Linked DNA regions of Homo sapiens: all the other regions are linked to region 1. The links are contacts of gene promoters, found by promoter capture Hi-C in blood cells and fetal thymus (Javierre and others, 2016). All regions are on one chromosome and are shown on one strand. Each heading gives the region's core, a stretch centred on a gene start or on the middle of the fragment in contact. The rest is flanking DNA. Distances are from core to core; before and after follow the strand shown. Region 1 holds the start of RBL2 (RB transcriptional corepressor like 2). Region 2 overlaps FTO (FTO alpha-ketoglutarate dependent dioxygenase). Region 3 overlaps CHD9 (chromodomain helicase DNA binding protein 9). Region 4 overlaps CHD9 (chromodomain helicase DNA binding protein 9). Region 5 overlaps FTO (FTO alpha-ketoglutarate dependent dioxygenase). Region 6 overlaps CHD9 (chromodomain helicase DNA binding protein 9). Region 7 overlaps FTO (FTO alpha-ketoglutarate dependent dioxygenase).

Region 1 (3,390 bases), core at 509-3,008:
TAAAATAAGAGCTTGTTTGGAAGCCTTTAAGGCCATTTACCAAAAAAAAACCCAAAAAACAAAAAACAACATAAAAAGCCAACCAGTCCTTCTCTTTGCCAGACTACAGAAAGGCACTGAGAGATGAATAGGAACATAGCTTACTCAGCCAGATCATGTAAATATACAAAGAGCTTAGTAAACTTGAAAACACTGTCCATATGGGTGCTTTATGTGCCAGAAACTACATTATTGCCTTATTTAATCTTCAGAACAGCTCTGTGAGGTAAACACAAATATCTCCAGTTTAGAGATCACCATACTGAACTTTTCCAGCGGTTTCAGGTCTGTCGGGTTCTAAAGCCACCATACACTATCTTCTGCAGACCTAACAATTCAAAGAGGGAACTAGTAATTGAATTAAAATTCTATTAATGCAAATACAAATTAAAAATAACCTCACTCATCAGTACACATAGCCAAAAACATCATATTTAAATAATACCTTGGTTAGGCTTTGCATCCTGGACCTATTTGCCCGACTCTTTCTACAAATTAATTATAAAACGACTTGAGAAATCAAATGGCCTCAGGTTTAAATGCCACACACACAGTCAAACAGCTGATAAACAATCCGTACTTCCGTGTCACTTCCCATTGGCCCATGAAGGGGAGGTGCATACAAAGCTGACACTCACTGGCTAGAATGGCCATTTTTCTCATCTGCAAGCCCTGTCCGAAGGCTGCGACCTAACACACCCGGATCGCAACAACAACAGGAGTCCTGTGCAATGCCCGGGGTGACCAAAAAGCCCTCGAGGTAGCCACAGTCCTGATCCTAGTGACAAATGGGGGCATGTGTCTACATCCGGGTCGGCGGAGGGCTCATTTCATCTGGCCTGGGGGGAAATGAGTATTAATTTGTTTACACAGACGTAAACACAGCCCAAAACGCATCAGCACGTTGACTCAAACGCCCGCAACGCCAGGGCAAAGGCAATTTGGTTAACAGGGGGAAGCGAACAGACGGAGACGCCTGGAGACCCAGGTGCCACAACCCGGTTAATCGCGGTGCAAATAAGGGCAAGTCCCCTCCCCTTGTCCGTGTGGTCTTGACAACGACACTAGTTCATTCTACTAACAAGGCGGGCGGGGGGTCAGATGGGCCACACACACCCATTTTCCTCAACGGGACCCCAGCGCGATCTCAGCCTTGCTGTGCTACTTTAGGGCAAGACGCGTTCCCCATTCGGAAGCCGCAGGAAAGCGCGGCGAGAGCGGGTTAGCCCTCGGAGCGGCTAAGAGCCTCGGAATAGCGCAGAGGAAGTCCCCACCCCTCTCGGGGCTGGGAGCCCGCAACCCGCCCGAGAGTCTCTCGAGGCGCGCGACGCGGCTCGGAAGGCACCGGTTCACGCCAACTAGGCCGGAAGCGCCCCTCCGCCCGCGAGCGCACCTCCAGCGTGTAGCTTTCGCTCATGCTGCGGTAGCTGTCCCAGGCCTCGGCCCGCGCCGCCTCGTCCATGTTGAGGCGGCTGCACAGCTCGTCGAACCGCTGCTGGATCTGAGGGGTGGGCGACTCGGCAGGCGGCGCGGCGTCTTCCGCCTCGCCGTCGTCCTCCTCCTCCTCATCCGAGGCTGCCGCCGCCGGAGGGGGAGGCGGGGGCGGTGGCGACTGGTCACCTCCCGACGGCATAGCGCACCCCTGGGCGGCCGGACCTCAGGTGAGGTGAGGGCCCGGGCCCGCAGCCATTCAAACGGCGAAGCGCCCGCCCGTCCGCCGCCCGCACCGCGCCTGCGCCGCCGCAAACGACGCTGACCGCCTGCAGGCACCCGTAGTCTTGAGCACGGGCTGCTGGGAAACGTAGTCCAGGCCGGCGGTTCAAGGGGGCCAAAAATCATGTTTAAAAAAATTAGCTCCCCTAGTTTCACCAGGGGTGAAATAAAAGCACCTTCCCCGCATTTTAAACACGTACCTCCCCACCGTGAGAACATTCAACAGGGCTGTACTGACGAGAAAATGTCCAAAAGACACTGACGTGTGAAGGTTTCGTATCCAGGCTGTTCCCAGAAGTAAAACTTCCTCATCGCCTGGATATCCTTATCTAAAAAATAGGGATAATAGCAAGGGCCTGTCTCTGTACGTTCACGAAACTGCCTTTGCAAAAATCCTAACAGTGAGAAAGTTATGACAGTGCAAGGGATCTGACCTAAATGACTCCACGCTTCTCACTTCCGAGCTGCCCTTGTTCATTCCTGGGCGAAGACCTAACTAACTACAGGAGGAATTTAATTTCTAATTTCACTTTGAAACAAAGATTGTAACAGTCCTTTCCAAAAACAAACCCCATTCTTGCCTGGGGATCAGTCTGCCTTTGTAGAACTAACAAATTAGCCACAAGATTAGAAATTATGATTTAGGAGGCTTGCAGCCAGAGGCTATAAGATTCCTGACCTCCCCAATTGCTCTCAGGGATAACATCACTATTGTAAAACCTAAGATTGGTGCTGGAGATACTTTTCAGACCGCGCATTCCGATGCACTAGCTGGCGCCACTCAGACCATAATCTGGCTCAACAAGTTCTGCAATTCCACTCAGTAACAGAAGACAGCAAGAGCCCACTTCAACCCCCTGTGATTTCACCTCCCACCTGACAAATTAGCATTCGCCAATCCCTGGCCCCCTACCCGCCAAGTCATTCTTTAAAAACCCCAGTCTCCGAATTTTCTGGTAGGCTGATTTGAATAACCAAACTCCTGTCTGCCGTTCAGCTGGCTCTGCGTGAATTAAACTTTTTTTTTTTTTTTGAGACAGAGTCTGGCTCTGTTGCCCAGGCTGGAGTGTAGTGGCACGATCTCGGCTCACTGCAACCTCCGCCTCCTGGGTTCAAGCGATTCTCCTGCCTCAGCCTCCTGAGTATCTGGGATTACAGGTGTGCGCCACCGCACCCAGCTAATTTTTGTATTTTCAGTACAGGCAGGGTTTCACCATGTTGGCCAGGCTGGTCTCGAACTCCTGACCTCAAGTGATCCACCCACCTCGGCCTCCCAAAGTTCTGGGATTACAGGCGTGAGCCACCGTGCCCAGCCAATTCATTTTATTTCCAATTCTCCTTTCTTTATTTTAATTTTTTAAATTGCCAATCCTTGATTTATAAATGGGCTTGATATAAAACATTTTCCAGATTGAGGAGCAATCTGAGGATTGAGCAATTTGAGGATTCAGAAGGCATTACTGTTTTGCTATTTTTGTTTTGCTTGGTGGGATATGTAAACTGACAGAGGGAAAAGTGCTGGGACAAAAGTAGGGGCTTATGGAAGGTATAATGACAGGCGGGAGGACAGGAAATGGAACTCTGAAGATAGGAGAAAATCAGGTAGACAGGTAACAGGATATTTCAGGAACAATTTTG
Region 2 (3,390 bases), core at 246-2,745, 480 kb before region 1:
ACTAGGGTTCACAGACAGTCTCCACTGGTGGAAGAAGTGGTGACTGGACTTCTGGTGACTGAGACTCCAATCAGGGACTCTCCCCGACTACAGTCTCACTTGGACACACAGACAGACACCTGAGGTCACAGTAAACAGCATCATTTTTTAAACTCAGAAAGACAACCACCAAATAGTTGATGAGCCTTAGCTCCCCTCCAGATATCCCAGAGATTCTCCCTAGCTATAGTGTCCCAGGTCAAGGGTGAAAATAATGATTTAAGGCTATTTTCACATTTATGAATACTACATATGAAAGGAATGCGTCAGATGAAATGTTAACTTCTGAGTGCTAGTATTATCCAGAAGATCACACAAGTCCTTAAGTTTGCAGATACTGCTCTGTGTATATGTTTAGTGCTCTGTGTATACATTTAGTGCCACTAAAAGAGGCCATCATTCCATCTAAAGTGTGGCATAGGCAGCAGAATCGTAGCTTCTCTCTGGTTAGGAAAGAATACCCAATGTTCAATGTTCACATGAGCAAAACGTGATTTACGGACCATCTATAAGCTCATTAGAATTTGTGTCTTACGTTTATAGGAACAAGATTTCCAACTCTATACTTCTTACAAATTTATTTTTTTAATTCTCATTATACTGCATTCATTTTCTTATATCATTCCAACGGTGATTTAGAATAAAAGAAACGATTGTGGATGGCTCAATGAGAACACAGAGAGACCCAAGCATATGAACCGGATAGTGGTACCCTTCATCATAAGCAGTAATAGGCATCAGTCTGCTAGCCCGCCTTTGCCCCTTAACTCATCTTTTAATGCCTCCCACTTAGGTAGGGCACTCTGAGGTCCAGAGTTATAAACTACATTTCATTCAGTTTTAGGGAATGAAAACAATATTCCAACTTCAATTATGAATCCATTTTAAAAGCTATATCCCCACTGAAGCACCTTGATATAAATAGATGCAGACTGTGCAGAGTTTAGCCTTAGCTTTAGAAAGCCAGTGTGGTTGCCACAAAGTTGCTTTGAGCTGCCCCAAGGACAACAAAAGTCATGTTTCTGTCTTGATTAATACAGTCTAAAACCTGCAAACTACTGCTGCGGTTGGCATGAATTCCTACTTAACTCTGACTTGCCACATCCAGAATAGTTTTATGCTTTGATAAGCAGATATTATTGGCTCATCTCAGACAGACAATTGCCTCTCCTGCCTTGTTGAGTGGTTACACATTCCATACCCAAAGATTAAACTGTTGTCGAAAACCAGTGATGGGCACAGCCCTTTCACGCTGAAATTGTCTCCATGAGACTGAGCAGGAACATGTTAACTTTGGGGTTCAGACAATGGGTATTCTGAAAGGATTAGAAAAATGGGCAACAACTGAACCTCCTCCTCCCTCCTGTGTTCGAGTCTACCACCTGCTGTGGTATTTTTGTTTCAGTAACAAAGATGCCTTCATGTTGGAGGCTCACATTTAGTGTTTGCTGAACTGGCCCCTTTAGTTTTGGTTAACTCTTAAGGAGCAGAAAAAGAAACATTTCTTGCCTGACAAATAAATAAAACATCCTCCTTTCCCGATTGTTGCCCACCAAACAATACATGTGCACCTATGGACATATGTGCATTTGTCTTCATATACTGAGACCTTTATACACCATACAGAAGCTGGGAGGATACTCTATTTATATTTAATAAAGTATTATTGGTCAATAAGAGCTGCATAGCATTTGTGATTTCATGGTTCACTATAGTAACAGGTGCTGTGATAAACAGGAATGTAAAGTGTTAAAAAGAAAGAAGGGATCACTTCAGAGACATTAAGCAGCTTTAAACACTGACAGCAGAAAGGGAAAATTTTTAAGCAATTTGGTTGGGTCAGTAAAAAGTAACACAGGTCAAAGGAACAAAATGGTCCCCCAAAATTCTGCCCATTGATAAGTAAGCATACCGTCTTATGGTTGGGTGCACAAGGCAAAAGCTAAACAACTGTTGTATGGAAACAAAAATATGCTCTCTTTGTGGCTCTTTTACAATAAGTTGCTTCAGCTTGGTGAACGCTTGGGGCCCCCATTCTCCCTGTAGACATGGCTGGGGTATACATTAATGAAAACAAAAGGGTCCATTTTCATTGTAACCATGCAGAAGGGTTAAGCATTTGACCTTCAAGTATGGTGCGCTTGTGCTCAGTGGAAAGGTTCTTGACAATATAAACAAGAATTACTGCTGTTAGAGAAAGGAAACACAATTAAAAACAATCTCAGATGCTTGTTGTACAGCTGTTCAAGTTTCAGCTCTGTCTGACCTCTAAGGATGCTACATGTTTAACGGAGACAATTTAAGATATTTTAGTGAGTCCCTTAAGCATTCGCCATGGCCGTCCTTCCACACGGGAATACCTATCCTTAAACACAAAGCGCTTTTCCAGTAATGAGATTTTACGCTGTGGGGTTTACCCTTAAAGCCATTTTGCCTTCCCAATCTGTCCTCCTCTTGCTATCTGACCACCCTGAGAAGTTGCCACAGACCAGATCTTATAGGGACTTGACAGGAGGCAGGAATGTTTGACTTTAGAGAGTACAATTCTTTAAAAATAGTTTGTATTTTTAAAGCAAAATCTTGTAACTTACTTTCCAAAAAAAGACGTTACTGAAGAAAAGTTTCTATTCTGTTAAACAATTATTTATCTGCAAAAAAAAAATTATTTCAACAAAAATGCAGTCATTTATTTCCAATGTGTGAAAGAGAAAGCACTGAGAACTCCGAAACAGAATTTGAAACAGGACAAAAAAAAAAAGAAAAAAGAAAGAAAGAAGAAGTATTTCTTCTAAGACATCACAGGAGATGGTTTTAAAAGAAACAGAAATGCTAAAGTCCAAGCTGAGGCAAACCACTGTCTTCCTGTCTTTTGATCTTCTTCGAGTCAGCAAAAGGCTCTGAAACTCTTCCACAAATAAGAGAGTCCCTGGGAAGTGATCGTGAGAAGACGCTGTCCTCCACTGGGGCAGGACAATGCGAGAAGGCCGAGGGACTGTGGCCAGGGCCTATGACCAGCTTTTTTTTTTTTTTTTCTTTTTTTGAGACAGAGCCTCACTCTGCCGCCCAAGCCGGAGTGCAGTGGTGTGGTCTCGGCTCACAGCAGCCTCCGCCCCCAGGGTTCCAGCAATTCTCCTGCCTCAGCCTCCTGGGTAGCTGGGATTACAGGCATGCGCCACCACACCCAGCTAATTTTTGTATTTTTAGTAGAGATAGGGTTTCACCATGTTGGCCAAGCTGGTCTTGAACTCCTGACCTCAGGTGATCCACCCACCTCAGACTCCCAAAGTGCTAGGATTACAGGCATGAGCCACTGCGCCAGGTCTACGAGTGGCTTTAAATGAACAAACCATG
Region 3 (3,390 bases), core at 309-2,808, 350 kb after region 1:
CCGGCTAATTTTTTGTATTTTAGTAGATACAGGGTTTCACCATATTGGCCAGGATCGTTTCGATCTCCTGACCTCATGATCCACCCGCCTTGGCCTCCCAAAGTGCTGGGATTATAGGCATGAGCCACCGCACCCTGCCAGGCTTCTGTGATTTTATCATGCTGTATCTGCTGCCAGTTGGGTCCTTACCAACAACACTCTAAACTGCTTCAGAAATCCTCCTCCTCTTCAAGGCCAGTTCAGGACTCTTTCTTTGGGTAGGGCAAGTTTTCACTTGAGTCTCTGACCACATTTGAGTCAACCTTAAGAACTTAAAATTCACCTGCCCATAGAAGAATTAAGTGACACCTTCCTTTCCTTCACATTCCATGGTCATGACCAGCAAGTAACTGCATATTTAAGGAGCTCTTCTACTGGTGCGGTGGCTCACACCTGTAATCTCAGCAGTTTGGGAGCCCAAGGCAAGAGGATTGCTTGAAACCAGGAGTCAAGACCAGCCTGGGCAACATAGTGAGACCTCACCTCTACAAAAAAATTCAAAAATTAGTCAGGGCTGGGTGCGGGTGGCTCACGCTTGTAATCCCAGAACTTTAAGAGGCTGAGGCGGGAGGATCATTTGAGCCAGGAGTTTGAGACCCCAGGCTGGGCAACAAAGTGAGACCCTATCTCAATTAAAAAAAAAAATTAGTTGGGCATAGTGATGCACACTTGTAGTCCTAGCTACTTGGCAAGCTGAGGTGGGAGGATCGCTTGAGGCCATGAGTTCAAGGCTACAGTGAGCTATGATCATGCCACTGCACTCCAGCCTGGGTGACAGAGTGAGAGACAGGTTTTATTTTGTTAAAAATAAAACAAAGAAGTCGGGGGGTGGGGGCGCTTTTATTTTCAAAAAAAAGTTTCAAGGACAACTTCTGTTTCTCATCTCTGTGAGAGAAAAGAGGGAAACTGAGGCACGGAGTTGGGGGCTATTTGCTGAAAGACACCTTTGGCAGGACTCCAAAGAGTGGGCAGAACCACATACTAAGCTATTTTTCAAAGTTCAGGTGTCTTCAGGAATTGTCCATAATAAAGATAAGTAGAATTTCCTTACAATGGAATGGTGCAGAAATCTAACAGGCAGAGAAAGAGGGGAAAAAACCTTAAGCAAAGGTGTGGCAATATAATCTCTTTCTCTGGCATTATCTTTTTGCTGCCAGTTAGATTCTTTTAGTCTTGCAATTCCCTTATACAGGAAATGAGAAAGATGAGTGGAAGGAGACGATAAGAGGAGAAATTTCAGAGCAAGGGCAAGTGTGTTAAATGAATGACTGCCTACAGTAGGGTGTGTCCAGGAATGTCTGGGGGTGTGTTTGCATCCTTAGTTTATGCAAGTTATGCACCAAAGCTTTGCATCCTTAGCTATGCAAGCCATTTTGGTGGAAGTGTTGTTTCTCATACTTCAGGAAATACAATACCCTCCTATGGGGACCTTTGTGATTTGTCACCCTCTCTCCCATCTCCTCAACACACTGTTGCCAGTCACTTAATCAATGCCTATTTGTAGAATATCCTCTTGGTACCTGGCACTGTGATATGTACCAAGGTTACATCAATGAACAAGGAAGACACAATCATAGTCCTCAGGGGGCCACAGTTTAAAAGGGAGGCAGACGACTGATGGGAAACCACAGTTCAGCAGGGTGAGCACTCAGATAGAGGACACAAAGAGGGAGGGCATGGAGGAGGAAGCTTACCTGACAGGGCAGAGAGGAGCTGGGAACGTATCCTGGAAGAAGGGAGTCTAACCTGGGATCTGAAGGATGTGCTGGAATTGGACGGGTAAAAAGCAAAGAGAATGCTTCAGGCAGAGCCAAGTGCATGGGCAAAGATCTGAAGGTCGAATTCCTCCTGCACCTGATGAAGATCTGTGGTTGGAAGTAAGGCAAGCTCTGTCCTGGGAAGGTTTCCAGGGTTCTGGGGCCAAGTAAGGGACCAACAGGGCAGTGGCTATAAGCTGAGGCTGAGAACCTTAAAATTCTTTGTTCTCAAATTTAAACCAATCGGTTAAAAGCATTTAAAATAGGCTGGGTGCAGTGGCTCATGCCTGTAATCCCAACACTTCAGGAGGCAGAGGTGGGAAGATCACCTGAGCCTAAGAGTTTGAGACAAGACTGGGCAACATGATGAAACCCTGTCTTTACCCAAAGAAATATAAAAATTAGTTGGGTGTGGCGGCAAAGGCCTGCAGTCCCAGCTACTCAGGAGGCTGAGGTGGGAGGATGGCTTGAGCAGGGAAGGTTGAGGCTGCAGTGAGCCAAGATCACGCCACTGCACTCCAGCATGGATGACAGGGCAAGATGCTGACATACATGAATAAATAAATAAATAAATAAATAAATAAATAAATAAATAAATAAATAAAATGTTCTCCTGTCCTTAAGATACTTAGAATACAGGATGGAGAACTAAGTGTTTACCAGACACTGGAAAATAGTCCTTCCTCCTGATATGGAACACCAACACCAAGGTTAAAGCACAGAGCCTGAGACAAAGTGACTTTTAAATTCCAGTGCGCAGGAGACAAAGAACATTCATACATTTTGTTCTTTCTCTTTCTCTCTCTCTCACACACACACATACACACTAACCTGGTGAGGTAGGCAGAGTAGGTGTTAGACTTTTTTAAATATTGTTTTTATAGAGGAGAAAACTGAGGCTCAAAGAGGAAAAGTATCCAAGGTTATTGGTTTATTCATTCATTCATTCATTCATTCATTCATTCACAAACTTGACAAATATAAACAGATCACTTACCAGCCTGGGCAACATAGTGAAACACCATCTCTACAAAAAAAAATTTTTTTTTAATTAGCCAAGCATGGTGGCATGCACCTGTAGTCCCAGCTACTTGGGAGGCTGAGGTAAGAGGATTGCTTGAGCCCAGGAGTTTGAGGCTGCAGTGAACCACTATCATGCCACTGCACTCTAGCCTGGGCAACAGGGCAAACCCCCAACTTGAGGGGAAAAAAGAGCACCTGCTGACCTGCTGTTGGCAGGATTGTGCTTGGCACTGTGGATAGAGTGGTGAATAAGACACGCCTACTCATAGGAGCCAGGGTTCAAACTCATGGAAATTCTGATTCCAATTCCAGTGCCCTTCCCAATACAATGAACTGCAGGTTTGATGTGTTGTCTCCACTGCTCCAGTGGTTTGGGTGGGTGCTTTATTGCCCCATAGTCTTTGCCAGCTACCACCTCCCAAAACATACCATCAAAGAGAAAACTGCATAGTTGTTATGCAAATGTATCTTTAAGACAAGGTGCAGAACCAGATTCTCCCTGTAAGTCCCTCCCATCTAGAAACTCTGTATCCACCAAAGACTGTCCTGAACTGGTTGCCTTTGACAGTCC
Region 4 (3,390 bases), core at 324-2,823, 330 kb after region 1:
GTATTGTTAATATTAGCAAAAGTTTGGAAACAACCTAAGTGACCATCTTAGGGAACTGGTTGACCAAATTATGGAATACCCGTACAATGGAATACAGTAAAATCATTTTTAAAAAATGAGAAGACTGAAATAAATTACTAATAGAATAATTTCAAATGAGAAAATCAAGTTGTAGAATAAGTGTATGCTACCACAAAAAAAAGGCAAAACAAAAATACGCACATAAAACCGTATTTGCTTATATACATTTACATACATATATATGAAATATCTCTGGAAAGGCCCATAAGAAACTGAAATTATTGGCTTCTTCTAGAAAATGCACTGGATACTGGGGGGACAGGGTTTGGGGGAGACACCTCACTATATATCCTTTCGAATTTTGAATCAAACAAATATAATTCCTACTGAAATAAATAAACTTAATATTTTAAAGAGGCTGCGCGTGGTGACTCATGTCTGTAATCCCAGCACTTTGGGAGGCCAAGGTGGGAGGATTGCTCGAGGACAATAGTTCAAGACCAGGCTGGGCAATTAGCGAGACCTCCATCTCTACAGTTTTTTGTGTTTTTTTTGTTTTTTTGTTTTTTTTTAATTAGCCAGTCATGGTCTTAGCTACTTGAGAGGCTGAGGCAGCAAGACAGCTTGGGCCCAGGCGTTCGGGGCTCAAGGTAGTAAAATTACATTAAATGATTTTTTAAAATTAAGCCCTTCAACTAGGAGAATATACGAGAAAGAAGTTCATTATAACTTTTTTTTTTTTTTTTTGAGACAGAGTTTCATTCTGTCACCCGGGCTGGAGTGCAGTGGCACGATCTCAGCTCACTGCAACCTCCGCCTCCTGGGTTCAAGCAATTCTCCTGCCTCAGCCTCCCGAGTAGCTGGGATTACAGGTACCTGCCACCATGCCCAGCTAATTTTTTGTATTTTTAGTAGAGATGGGGTTTCACCATGTTGGCCAGGTTGGTCTTCAACTCCTGACCTCAAGTGATCTGCCCGCCTTGGCCTCCCAAAGTGCTGGAATTACAGGCACGAGCCACTGCACCTAGCCCATTGTAACTTTCTTATACAGTTTCTGTAGGTTTGAATTGTTTTCAAAATAAAAAAATAATTTAACAAAATAAGAATCTCTCCTCCAGGGTGATGAGTTGAGTTGGGTGCTTTCAGCTAGGGGCTGTCAAGGAAGGAGAAGTACCCAAGAGAATTTGCTGGCTTCCAATGTATATCAATAGTGGCCTGAGAGCCAAGGGCAGAGTGGAAATCTCTGCTCTGCTGCCATCATGAAATGGGTTTCCAACATTGGCAATGCAATTTCTAACTGTGCCATAATCGGAAACAACATTCTTTAACTGAAAATGGCCAAATCTTTGTGCTGGTTAAATACAAGGGGGAAAAAATAAAATGTCAGAGTTCACCCTTTTCCTCCAAACATTTAGGAAAGGAGTTAAATGCAGTCAAAGCTTAGATTTTAGAAAAATTCCCCTGGCCAACTCCAGGGAAGAGGAGCAGCTCCACGACCAGAGCAAACCAGGTATTTCCTGTGCAGGCCCAGCAAGAATCCTGTGCAATGAAGTCGTTTATAACAGAGGAATGCTTTGGCGAGAAGGGAAGGCCATGGAGTAGGAAATCAACATATTTGTGTTCCAGTCCTGAAGGTACCTCAGCCCTTTTCATATACAAGCTTAATGTTTTAAGCCCGAGTAGCTGCCTCTATGAAATGCAATCATAAAAGCTGCCTTACTCACCTTCCTGTGCTGTTGTGATGACCAAAAGGTAAAGAGGGGTACAAAAGCATTTTAAAAACTATAAGGCACTAGAGACCAATGTTAGGTATGTACAAAACAAAATACCTGTTGAGGATAACTTTGAAGTTTTCAATCAGAGGAAAAAGCAAATGTGATCTTTAGGATGAGATAGATAAGAACTTTCTAGCTCTACCCCCTCATCTGCTAGAGGACTTAGGGCAATTCTTCTAGCCATTCAGAACCTCAGTTTGCTCACTGCAAAATGAGGTTAACGCTCCCTATTTAACAAGCTGGCTGTAAGAATAAAGTAAATAGCATATATAAAGTGCTGGGCACATAGAGAACTCACACAAAGATGAGTTCCCTTTTAACCTGCCTTGGGTAAAGAATCAGCGTCTCCATCAAGGGATACTCCATTCACTGATTTGCTCATTCATCAAACTCTCTGTGCTATCTACTCAATTCTTCTGCAAATCTAAAAGTGTTCTAAAAATAAAAGCTAAGCTGGGCATGGTGGCTCACACCTGTAATCCCAGCACTTTGGGAGGCTGAGGCAGGAGGATCACTTGAGCTCAGGAGTTGGAGACCAGCCTGGGCAACATGATGAAACCCCATCTCTTTTTTAAAGAAAAAGAAAAAAAAAACAAATAAAATCTACCTTTTTTTTTTTTTTTAAAGAGACAGGGTCAGGGCCAGGTGGGGTGGCTCATGCCTATAATCCCAGCACTTTGGGAGGCCAAGGCGGGCGGATCACGAGGTCAGGAGATCGAGACCATCCTGGCTAACATGGTGAAACCCTTTCTCCACTAAAAATACAAAAAATTAGCCAGGGGTGGTGGCGGGTGCCTGTAGTCCCAGCTACTCAGGAGGCTGAGGCAGGAGAATGGCGTGAACCCGGGAGGCGGAGTTTGCAGTGAGCCGAGACTGCGCCAATGCACTCCAGCCTGAGTGACAGAGCAAGACTCTGTCCCCCCAAAAAAAGAAAGAGACAGGGTCTCACTCTGTCACCCAGGCTGGAGTTCAGTGGCACCATCACAGCTTACTGTGGCCTTGAACTCCTGGGCTCAAGCAATCCGTCTGCCTCAGCCTCCTGAGTAGCTACGACTACAGGCATGCACCACCATGCCTGGCTAATTTTTTATTTTTTTGCAGAGATGGAGTCTTGCTATGTTACCCAGGCTGGTCTTGAAGACTGGCCTCAAGTGATTCTCCCACCTCTGGCCTCTGAAAGTGCTGAGATTACAGGTGTGAGCCACCATGCATGGCCTAAATCTATTAAAAAAATATTTATTGTGGGTATAGAGTGTCACAGTTCAGAAGAGAGACTCTGGAGTGAGACTGTTTGGGTTGAATCAGGTTCTGCCACTTACTAGCTGGATGACCTAGGACATTTATTTAACAGCTCTGCACTTTAGTTTCCTCATCTGTAAGCACTATGAAAAAATCTTACTATTAATATAATAATAATAATTATTATTAGACACTGTACTCAACACAGGGAATACAGTTGTGAAGAAGGCAGTTTTGAACCCTACTCTCATGAAGCTAAAACAAGGGGCTCTGAAATCACCTATCAAACATCCTAAATGTAGAGAAACATAGGGCCAAAGAGGTGAAGTGACTCCTACCAAGGCCAAACAACTAG
Region 5 (3,390 bases), core at 593-3,092, 310 kb before region 1:
TCTCTCTAAGCTTCAATTGCCTCATCTCTAAAATCAGGGGGAAAAAAATGGTAACTAGGCAGGGTTCCTATGAGGATTATAGGAGATAATACATGTAAGTTAAAGCTTGTATTATTAAATTAAAGAATAGGGAAATTAATATTAATAGTGCAATCATTATCTGCGTAGTAACACAAGTATTCCCACGATAATAAGCTGTATTAAAAATTGTGCCTAAAATTATCTGCAAACATGTTACAATTATTTTATTACCTAACATACTAGATGAGGACAAAAGTTCTTTACCCCACTTTCCCACTTTTATAAGTGAGAAAGAGATATCAAAGACTCATCTGAGGCTCCAGGGACTAGATCTGTTACCTAAACATCAGCGTATGAGCACAGGAGGAACAGGAGTGGAAAGTAAAGGATGAAAAGGTAACTGCAATCATCAGAGTGCATGTCCCATTCATTTCAGATCTCCTTGTTGTCTAGGCTTCCTTATGTCCAATTTAGGTTCCTTCTAAGAGGTGGCACAGGACAAAGCCACAACCATCGACTGGGAGAAAGAACCAAAAGGAGCCACCTAGTGGCCAAGCAAGCTTTCATTCCGACCACAGTGAAGCTTCAAATCATGTTAACTTAAATCACTTTATAATCCAAGAAAATGTAGAAATATAATATTTTTGTAGCAAATGAAGGGGCATTTCAAATTTTAGGCTAACGAAAATTCAAGGCTTCTATAGATTGTTGAGAGCCTGACAGTGGAAAGGAGACAGGCAGCTGGAATTATACATACCTGGATTCACTTACTCATGGATAGAGTTATACACTCTAACCTTTTCCACATCATGGAGTGTGCAGAAAATTATATTTTTTAAGGCACACTGGAGTAATCAGAAGAGGCTGCCCAGAGTTAGAGATGAAGAGACCAGGGGCTCCAGTTACCCCTGTCCCCATCTGCCCATTCCAAGAACTAAAGGAACCAATATCTCCACAAACTATAACCCACTCAAGGCACACTAGTGGAAAGCGCTCCTTCAACAACCTAGTTAATCTTATTGGGCTTTCTTTTCTTTATCTATAAAGTGTGGCAAACAATACCCAGTTAGGTTTATGATGAAGATTAACTCAGATACTGCATGTAAATAAAATGCCTGGTACATACTATGCACCCAATCAATGTATTTTTTTCTTCCTTTTATGCTACTTCTTTTAGTATCAACACATAGGGATCCTGTTTTGTCACAAGCTAATTTACAAAGCTATATTATGTGATTTTAAGTAACAGCAATAATCATAGCTCCTGTTTAACTGAGTGAATATTATAAGCCAGACCAGTGCTGGATTGCCTCACTGAACCTTTATAACCACCTTAGAAGGCAGGGATAGTAGATACCTTCTGTTGTCCACCCAGTGTCTATTATCGAAATTTTTCTTATCAACAAAATCCTGATTTTGACCTGGGCAACAATGTGTCACCAAAAAAAACTTGCCTTCCCAGACTTTCTTGCAGCTAGGGGTGGCCATATGGCATAGTTCTAATTGAAAAACTGGAAGGGCTGGTATTGACCCTTCCTGCCAGGCCAATGCCTGAAGGTCTACCCACCACATTTAAATGAAACCACATAGTAAAGCAGCCTCCAAGAAGACCCTCAATAATCCCTGCCTCCTGATATTCCCACCCTCCTGGAATTCCTCCCCTTCAGTATAGGCTGGACCTAGAAATTCACTTCTAACAAACAGAATACCGCAGAAGTTATGGAATATTACTTCCCAGAGTAGGTTACAAAAAGTCTGTAACCTACCCCCCACTCTCCCCAGATACTCTGGGAGAAACTAACAAACATGTTGTGAGCTGCCCTATGGAGACAGAAACGTGGCAAGGAATTGATTCTCCAGCCAACAGCCAGTATGGGTCTGTCACTTCCCAAAACCTACATGAGTGAGCTTGGAATCAGATCCCCTCCACCCCAGTCAAGTCTTGAAATAAGCGATTTCCCAGCCAACAGCTTTGTGAGACCCTGAGCCAGAGACAACTAGCTAAGCTGTATCTGGACTCATGACCCATAGAAATTGTAAGGTAATTAATATTTGTCGTTTCAGATTGCTAAGACTTGTGGTAACTTGATACACAACAATAACAGAGTTTAGTCACCCTCTCTCTATGAAATTGCATGCTGAGAATGGCAGAAGAGGACACTGGAAAGATCCTGGTTCCTCAATGACCTTCTTGGGCAGCTTGACCACTACCTAGGTCATGATTCAGATTATGTGAAAAAAATAAAGTTTTATTTCATTAAACAATTAAAATCAATTTTAATTCATATAGTAAGTACTACTACTACTACTATTATTATTACTGTTCCTAGGTAACATCTAATGGGTTTGTACAATACAAATAAAAGAGCAACAGAGTGGTTCACAGATTATAATCCAATGGAATAAACAAACAATGCAATAGAAGTTACTTGTAAACACTATTCAGCAAAAAGGGTAAATTACAAAAGCACATAGAATAACCTCATTGTTTCAAAATGTAAACACACACACGCAAATGCACAGAAAAAGTCTTGAAGGGTATAGACCAAGGGTCAGCAGATTTTTTTTCTATAAAGGTCCAGATAGTAATAATGAACACGTCAGGCTTTGAAGGCCTATAACTAACTACTAAACCTGCCATTTTAGCATGAAAGCAGTCTAGATAATATGTAAATGAATGAGCATGGCTATGTTTCAATAAAACTTTATTTGGGGAAACAATTTTAAATTTCATATCAATTTTCTCATGTGACAAAATGTTACTGTTACTTTAATGTTTTTCAACTATTCAAAAATGTAAATACCATTCTCAGCTCAAGGTCGATTAAAAAACAAGTGGCAGGCCAGATGTGGCCCACAGACAATAGTTTGCTGACCCCTGTTACAGGCCAAAATGTCCGGAGTGATTATGTTGTTTGGAAAGTAAAATTAAGGTTGACTTTTACTTTCTTCTTTAAACCTTTCAGCCTTGTCTTAATTTATGGTTATGTATTTTATTATTAGAATATACAGTAAAGTTGTATTCATCTGGGGTGTGCAGGGGAGAGAGAAAAGCTTCTTGTGTGGTATTGGGACATTGAAATGTGCTGAAAAAGCCACAGACCTGGTTCCCACCAGATCATCAATAAAAACTGTCAACTGAGCCAGAGATAACATTTTCAGTGCCCCTAAACTGGAAGGTAATCATGTAGCTATTTGAAAGGAAGCATTACAAGATGAAGAATTGAAACAGATGGGGAGAACCTACTGTAAAATGTGCATGTTTTCCCTCAAAAAATAAGATTATGACACACTGAGCAGAAAGGCAAGAAAAACCAGAAAATATTCTATCAGCACATTTTCAATCCTGTATGCACATTACAAGTTTCA
Region 6 (3,390 bases), core at 415-2,914, 300 kb after region 1:
TAATAACTGAAAAGAATGCTACTCTCCTGAGAATATCAAGATTATAAAACTTTTGTATTCTGCACCATCACCCAATACTATATATATCCATTCAATATTATATTGATTTATTTCTCTCAAATTTTCATATTTAATATAATCCATTATGAAAATATTCAAATAAACTTTCAAAAACTGAAGTGCATTGTTAAAAAAGATCATTTCACCAGTTTTTCTAACATAAATATGAAGCTTGCTTCTTCCTCTCAAATAACACAATATGAATATGTCATTGTATGGTATCACACTTCTAGCTAAACCTATTCTAAGGCGCTTATCATTCAGATAAAGGTAGACTTCTTCTGAAGCACTTGTCCAGGGATGGTGTTCAAAACTTGTTTTCTTGCCAAATCTTTCCTTTCCCTCATCTTCTTCATCTCAGTAAATCACACACCACTATCTATCTAGTTTCTCAAGCCAGGAACCAGGAAATCATTTTTGACACTTTTCTTCTCACATCCAATCCATCATGAATCTGTCAGTTGTTCCTCCTCCACACCTCACCATCTCCTCTCTAAAATATATGTATAATCTGGCTACCATCATGTTTTTCCTGGACTACTGTAGTATTACAATATCTTTACTTTCACCCTTGCCTTTCTCCAATCCATTCTCAAAGTAGCATTTTTAAAATGTAGATTAAAGCGTATCACTTCTCTAATTCAAAATCTTCAACGACTGCAATGTCTTTAGTAAAACCTGTAAGTCTTTAATATGCCCCACAAGGCCCTGTATAATCTGCTTTCTATCTCTCATTTCAGCTCATATGGTTTTCTGCCTTATTATGCTTCTGCCATCCTGAACTTTTCATTTCTTTCAAATATTAAGTTCTTTCCTGTGTCATAGCCTTCAAACATATTTTTCTCTCTTCCAAGAAACTCTTTTCTCTCCTGACCTGTCTTCTTATTCTGTTTCCACTTAGAATCACCAACTGAGGGAAGCCTTCTCTGAGAATACAACATTAATTTCTCCCCATTTTCTCCACCATAGCACTCTGTTCTTTTATTTCACTGAACTGATCATAAGTTGTAATTTTCCATTTGTTTATTTACTTGTTCTTTATCTGTTTGCACTGTTAGATGGTAGGTTCCATGAAGGCAGGGATCACTTATTATGCACTTAATACATATATCATAAATTAAGGGAGCACTTCATAATATATACATTTAATGAATAAATGGATGTGAATGACTTTGAGTCCAGAGAATAAATTACAGTTCAAAGTGGTTTCCCCTTCTTTGGGTCTCCCATTGTCACTTGATCAGCTTTCCAACTGTTTCTAAAAGAAAGGAATAAAAATTGTTTCTGAAAGCTTAAAGACAATACAGTAGAGGAAATGTCAGGAAGTTGTACATGGTATGCCAAATAAGTGCAACAAATAATTATACTAAGATCTCATGGGAAGGAGAAATCCCTAAGGGCTACAAGGACAAGATACGATTTTATTCACAAGGTGGAATTTGACCTGAGTATTCACAGACTGGTAAAATTCCAAGAGGTGGAAAAGTAAGGGAGTGAAGCCCAAATAAGGAAGTAAACAGAGGCACAAAGTGCTAGGGAACAGTTATAAAACTGGAATGTGGCACTTTAAATTTACAACGTAAATAAGTGTAAAAAAGCTAAATCTTATATAAGAAATCTATATCCCACGTTAAGACAACTTCAAAGAATTTGAAAGGTTAAAATAACTCTATCTCATCAGTATCCATAAATCTCTTCTGACTCCAATCTTTGGCTTCTGAAGTTTTCCAAGCACTTACAACATGCTTCCATTAGTTTTTACTCTGACCAACTGCCTCAAGTTTCCATATTCTTACCTGTGTTTTTTATTCACTCATTACCCGATGAAATTTCCCCAGTAGATTAATTCATAGTTTTTCTTTATAGACTCTCTAGGATTTCATTTTTCTTCTCTGTTATTTACGGAGGTAAGCTTTTTTTTCTATGACATTTCGATCAATAAACACATCTTTAGAAAATCTTAACTTTTCATATGTACCAAAATTTTGTTTTACTATTGATAGATGCAATAGATTTTACTTTAAAATCTGTATTTCTACTTCAGTTCTTGCCTCTTATATTCATATATCGAGCCCCTCCTTCAGCTCTATCCTGTTTCCAGAGGTAAACCAGGAAGGTCTAGCACAGTGCCTTGTAGAAAGCATTCGGTTGCATTAGATAAGAAGTTTGTAATTAAAGTTTCTAAAGATACTTCCAAGTTGAAAATTCTATGGTTTCCTTAATCTTATCTTGTCACGGGCTTTTTCCATGGACACCGTTTTCTATCTGTATTCATATCTGCCCACCCCATAAGTTTTTGATTTCAGAGGATAGACCTCATAGGGTACTTAGAATCCTACAATAGTAAAACTGGAGGAAACAAAGTTTTACACAGGAGGAAACTAAGGCTCACGGATGTCAAGAAACTTAATATTATCTACACAGTTAAGTGACAAAGTCCCGATTCTCTCTAGCCAGCACTCTATCCAAGAAGAGGATTTTACTGGTTATAAAAGCATCATAATTTTTTTTTTCTTAATAGAGACGGGATGCAGTCTTAATAAGTTGCCCAGGCTGGACTTGAACTCTTGGCTCAAGTGATTCTCCTGCCTCAGCCTCCCTATTAAGAGCCGCCCCCGATTAAAGTAGCCTGCTCATACACCTTACTTAGTATGTTTTTGACTAGCATTGCTTTTATCTGATGTTATTTCCTGTGCCTTTAGGATATCATCTCCTGGTCAATTAATCACAAGGGTTTTTTGTTGTTGCTGTTTTTAACTGCAATACTATACATACTTACCTGAAACTGTTCAGGAATGACAGTTACCCTTAATCAAAACTGGGAGGCAACCACTTTTCCCAATGCACTTCAGGTCTGTAATACAGACTTCACGTCTACATTATATGGTCTATAGTTTATAGGAAACTCTCCAAGGACAGAGACCTGCCAATACTTTGTGGTAAACTATAACTACATAACGTGAATTTTTAAAGCAATAGAAGAAACGGCCGGGCGTGGTGGCGCGCACCTGTAATCCCAGCTACTGGGGAGGCTGAGGTTGGAGAACTGCTTGAACCTGGGAGGAAGAGGTTGCAGTGAGCCGAGATGGCGTCACTGCGCTCCAGCCTGGGTGACAGAGCGAGACTCCGTCTCAACACCAAAAAAAAAAAAAAAAAAAAAAAAAAAGCAGAATTAGAAGAAATGGAAAGTCTTCGAAGATACATAATACAGACAGAACTTGCTTCGAGCAATAGAAGTCTTTTATTTAATACTTATCAAATATCGAACGTAAGGCTCCATGTGGCCTGTTGTTACAACACAGCATCTCTAAATTCACGTTCTGTAAACCC
Region 7 (3,390 bases), core at 345-2,844, 290 kb before region 1:
TTTTTGTATCTTTAGTAGAGACGGGGTTTCACCATGTTGGCCAGGCTGGTCTCAAACTCATGATCTTGTGATCCACCTGCCTCGTCCTCCCAAAGTGCTGGGACTACAGGCGTGAGTCACCACACCTAGCCTACACAAAACATTTTCTAAACAAAATATTTTCTACTGGTGATGGAGAGCAGATTAAGAGTTAAGGTTAAATAACTGTTCAGTAAAGTAAAAAAAAACAAAAAACAAAAAGCTTAACTTCCAATCTATACATGTTTCCATTTGACAAGAAATGCTGAGAGTCAACCACATTTGTAGCATCTTACTAGACACAAAAAACAAATTTATAGCAGTGTTGTCAGCCAGAGGGATCTTATAATCCCCATAGGGAAAAGAGAATTACTGTGTATAAAACACTACTATGTATAAGCAATCTCAAAATGTAAAATTTAATATGACCTAACGTCAACCACATACGGTACCATACACCAGTAAATGTACCATACACAAACTTACCGTTAGTATCATACTTTTTGACACAGGAAATAAAGTCGGTAAGGAAAGAGATGAATGGAATAATCCTCAAACGCTTCATGAAAGAGGAGGGACTGAAGAAAAGACCTCACAGTCTGGTGGATCATACAATCATTAAAATAGTTTTTATTTCTCAGATGAAACTCTTTTTGTAGATCTCCAAAGTTTGAGCTTATAAACAACCAAGCAGAATTTACCATCAATTATCTGAGATATGAAGTCTCCCAGTAATCTTTAAAAGCAGCGCAAAGGGTAAGTATCTCTGTTTTTTCAAAAAATTATACTTTTTCCGATTGAAATGAATGGTTTAAAAAAAATATGGGGTCAGAGGGTGACAGGAGCACATTGCACTGTCATAATGCTGAAATGTCAGTGGTTTGTGAAATCCTTCGGTGACCAATATTCGAAAAGAGAGTATGAAATACCTACCCAGAAAATACTATCACTCTGCATTTGGATAGTGGTTAGCAATTTTAAAACAACCTGTTAACCTAAGACTGACTTATATGATGACATTTATTTCCCCAAAGAACATGGGAACTCTCAGGTAAGTAAAAGAGACTTACTTGATACAATTATCACCCTTCCATAGCAATGAACAAAATAAACTAAAAATAAAAAATAAATCTCAGTGCAAGAGAAACAATGAAAATGTAATGTAACTGCAATTGAAAGGGAAGGAATAATCATACATTTATTTTTCATCCAATTGAGAAAAAAATTTTAAAAATATTAATAGCTGTTCTAAATGGTATAAAAATAGAAAATATTTTTTATCAATTTTATAATTTGTTATCAATCTAAATCAACTCCACTATTTTATTAGTCTATATACTTCGGGAACAGAGTATAATGTCTCTAGCCGCTCTTCTGCAGAGGAAATGAGACTGTGCCAAAAGGTTGACATCCTCAAGTTACGCATGTGCATTTCACCAGACTGTGTGTTGATGTAGCTGTCTAGGTCACCCCGAGTAAACTGGGAGAAGCAACGTGATTGGGGCAGGGCTCCTAAGTCTTGGTCCAATTGAGGATCACTTAGTACTTCATGTTTGAAAAGTAGGTCTCAGGCCAGGTGCAGTGGCTCATACCTGTAATCCTAGGACTTTGGGAGACCAAGGCAGGCAGATAGCTTGAGCCCAAGGGTTTGAAACCAGCCTGAGCAACATAGTGAGACCCAGTCTCTACAAAATGTACAAAAATTAGCCAGGCTTGGTGGCACAAACCTGTAGTCTCAGCTACTGAGGAGCCTGGGGTGGGAGGACTGCTTGAGCCTAGGAGGTCGAGGCTGCAGTAAGTTATGACTGTGCCACTGTACTCCAGCCTGGGTGACAGAGCAGGACCCAGGACTCTGTCTCAAAGAAAAAAAGAAAAAGAAAAAGAAAAGTACATCTCAGAAAACATCCAGTCAACAAATATTTACTGTATATCTGTCAACAAAGTTCTGTGCTAGATACTTCGGAAGACACAGATATATATATATCTTTTATATATATATAAAAGATATATATATATTTTATATATATAAAAGATATATATATATCTTTTTAAGTTTCTGTGTTCCTAATACAAAGAAATAATAAATGTTTGAGATGATTAAAATGCTAATTATCCTGATCTTATCACTATACACGATATGTATCAAAACATCACTATGTACTCCATGAATATGTACAATATTGTCTATTTCAAAATAAGTTTCTGTTCCTAAGAACTTGATAATTTCTACATGGTGGGGAGGGGGAGAAGTGGTGGATGAGATAAGAATGCTAAAAACCTATTTTAAATCATATTTATATCTACATAACATTGTTAGTATTCAAAGTTCTTTTACATTTATTATCTTATTGATGACATCTCAGATGAAGCAGGGAAGGGAGTTATTATCCCCATTTTACAGATGAAACATCACAGAGATTGGAGGACTCATACAAGGTAATACGTAGTAAGTGGCATATGTGAAACTCCAAGTTTAGCCTTCCAACTACTAGTGATGTGCACTGGTAGTTGGAATGTGAGACTACAAGTTTAGCCCTCCAACCACCAGTGATGTGCACTGGTAGTTGGAGAGCTAAACTTCCACTAACTATAGCAGGCTACTTACTATTTGTGTGGAGTGAAAGGGGAATGGGGGAATTCAGGGTATTCATTTAGGAAACATTAGTTCAGTACCTATTGTGTTCAAGACTCTGCGGACATTGGGGTACAAAGAAAAATAAAGTATAGTCTATATAACTAAGGTATGAGAAAGAAAATGAAAAAAATCATTAGAATACTGAATAAGTGCTACAAAAACATGCACAAATTGCTACAGAAACCAAAAAGATAAAACTATTTTAAGATTTTGAAATACTTTCCATATTAAACAAAAAAGAATAAAAATGAATAAGTAAGCATTCATCTCAAGATGTTGCCAAAAGAAGCTTAGGCAATGCAGGACAAAGAAAACAATAAAAACAAAGGTAGAAATTAATGAATTAGAGCATAAACAAATTCAAGAGCTTGTTTAAAAAAAAAAAAAAAAAACAGACTACCAGCAAATATAGTCAATTTTTAAAGAGAAGACAAGAATGTACAAAGTTATAATTTAAAAGAAGATGGAAAAAGTGAATATGGAATTTTTTAAATTATAAAACTATACACAATTCTACCCTAGTAAACCAGAGAATGTTATGCTCAATGCCATGTCAATAAATGTAAAACTCTCCCATTCTAAGATATAATGACCAAAATTTACTCAAGAAGAAAACTAAATAGACAATAGCCAGGCATGGTGGTGCACGCCTGTAATCCCAGCTACTCGGGGGGCTGAAGCAGGAGAACTGTTTGAGCCCGGGAGGCAGAGGCTGCAGTGAGCCTGGGTGACACAGC

The links. The method cuts DNA at HindIII sites, captures the fragments that hold promoters and counts their contacts. A CHiCAGO score of 5 or more calls a contact.
Region 2: a contact is called between a fragment that was not itself captured here and the fragment with the promoter of RBL2 in region 1, in 2 of 17 cell types (naive CD8 T cells and total CD4 T cells). The highest score is 6.1, in naive CD8 T cells.
Region 3: a fragment that was not itself captured here is called in contact with the fragment with the promoter of RBL2 in region 1 in 3 of 17 cell types (neutrophils, total CD8 T cells and fetal thymus); the score reaches 10.4 in neutrophils.
Region 4: a contact is called between a fragment that was not itself captured here and the fragment with the promoter of RBL2 in region 1, in 8 of 17 cell types (neutrophils, total CD4 T cells, non-activated CD4 T cells and 5 more). The highest score is 8.2, in neutrophils.
Region 5: a fragment that was not itself captured here is called in contact with the fragment with the promoter of RBL2 in region 1 in 1 of 17 cell types (non-activated CD4 T cells); the score reaches 5.0 in non-activated CD4 T cells.
Region 6: a fragment that was not itself captured here is called in contact with the fragment with the promoter of RBL2 in region 1 in 12 of 17 cell types (neutrophils, naive CD4 T cells, naive CD8 T cells and 9 more); the score reaches 25.7 in neutrophils.
Region 7: a contact is called between a fragment that was not itself captured here and the fragment with the promoter of RBL2 in region 1, in 2 of 17 cell types (total CD4 T cells and total CD8 T cells). The highest score is 8.4, in total CD4 T cells.

The regions. Positions count from the first base shown.
Region 1 is chr16:53,432,839-53,436,228 of GRCh38, reverse strand. RBL2 (RB transcriptional corepressor like 2) reads right to left here and starts at 1,758. Exons shown (of 22, transcript NM_005611.4): 1 at 1,433-1,758. The coding sequence starts at 1,672. RefSeq lists an enhancer at 764-873 and a silencer at 1,484-1,703. The HindIII fragment of the contact is 5,814 bases long and covers 1-3,390 here.
Region 2 is chr16:53,913,668-53,917,057 of GRCh38, reverse strand. The region is part of intron 7 of FTO (FTO alpha-ketoglutarate dependent dioxygenase); the gene reads right to left. Among named protein-coding and RNA genes, the nearest start is that of FTO-IT1, 120 kb to the left of the region's middle. RefSeq lists an enhancer at 1,124-2,769. The HindIII fragment of the contact is 6,118 bases long and covers 1-3,390 here.
Region 3 is chr16:53,081,212-53,084,601 of GRCh38, reverse strand. The region is part of intron 1 of CHD9 (chromodomain helicase DNA binding protein 9); the gene reads right to left. Among named protein-coding and RNA genes, the nearest start is that of CHD9, 28 kb to the right of the region's middle. The HindIII fragment of the contact is 344 bases long and covers 1,387-1,730 here.
Region 4 is chr16:53,102,190-53,105,579 of GRCh38, reverse strand. The region is part of intron 1 of CHD9 (chromodomain helicase DNA binding protein 9); the gene reads right to left. Among named protein-coding and RNA genes, the nearest start is that of CHD9, 49 kb to the right of the region's middle. The HindIII fragment of the contact is 221 bases long and covers 1,463-1,683 here.
Region 5 is chr16:53,740,448-53,743,837 of GRCh38, reverse strand. All of the region lies in intron 1 of FTO (FTO alpha-ketoglutarate dependent dioxygenase), which reads right to left. LOC124903691 (a long non-coding RNA gene) reads left to right here. Exons shown (of 3, transcript XR_007065070.1): 3 at 2,086-2,286. Among named protein-coding and RNA genes, the nearest start is that of FTO, 38 kb to the right of the region's middle. The HindIII fragment of the contact is 2,471 bases long and covers 607-3,077 here.
Region 6 is chr16:53,132,630-53,136,019 of GRCh38, reverse strand. All of the region lies in intron 1 of CHD9 (chromodomain helicase DNA binding protein 9), which reads right to left. Among named protein-coding and RNA genes, the nearest start is that of CHD9, 79 kb to the right of the region's middle. The HindIII fragment of the contact is 621 bases long and covers 1,354-1,974 here.
Region 7 is chr16:53,719,288-53,722,677 of GRCh38, reverse strand. All of the region lies in intron 1 of FTO (FTO alpha-ketoglutarate dependent dioxygenase), which reads right to left. Among named protein-coding and RNA genes, the nearest start is that of FTO, 17 kb to the right of the region's middle. The HindIII fragment of the contact is 2,701 bases long and covers 244-2,944 here.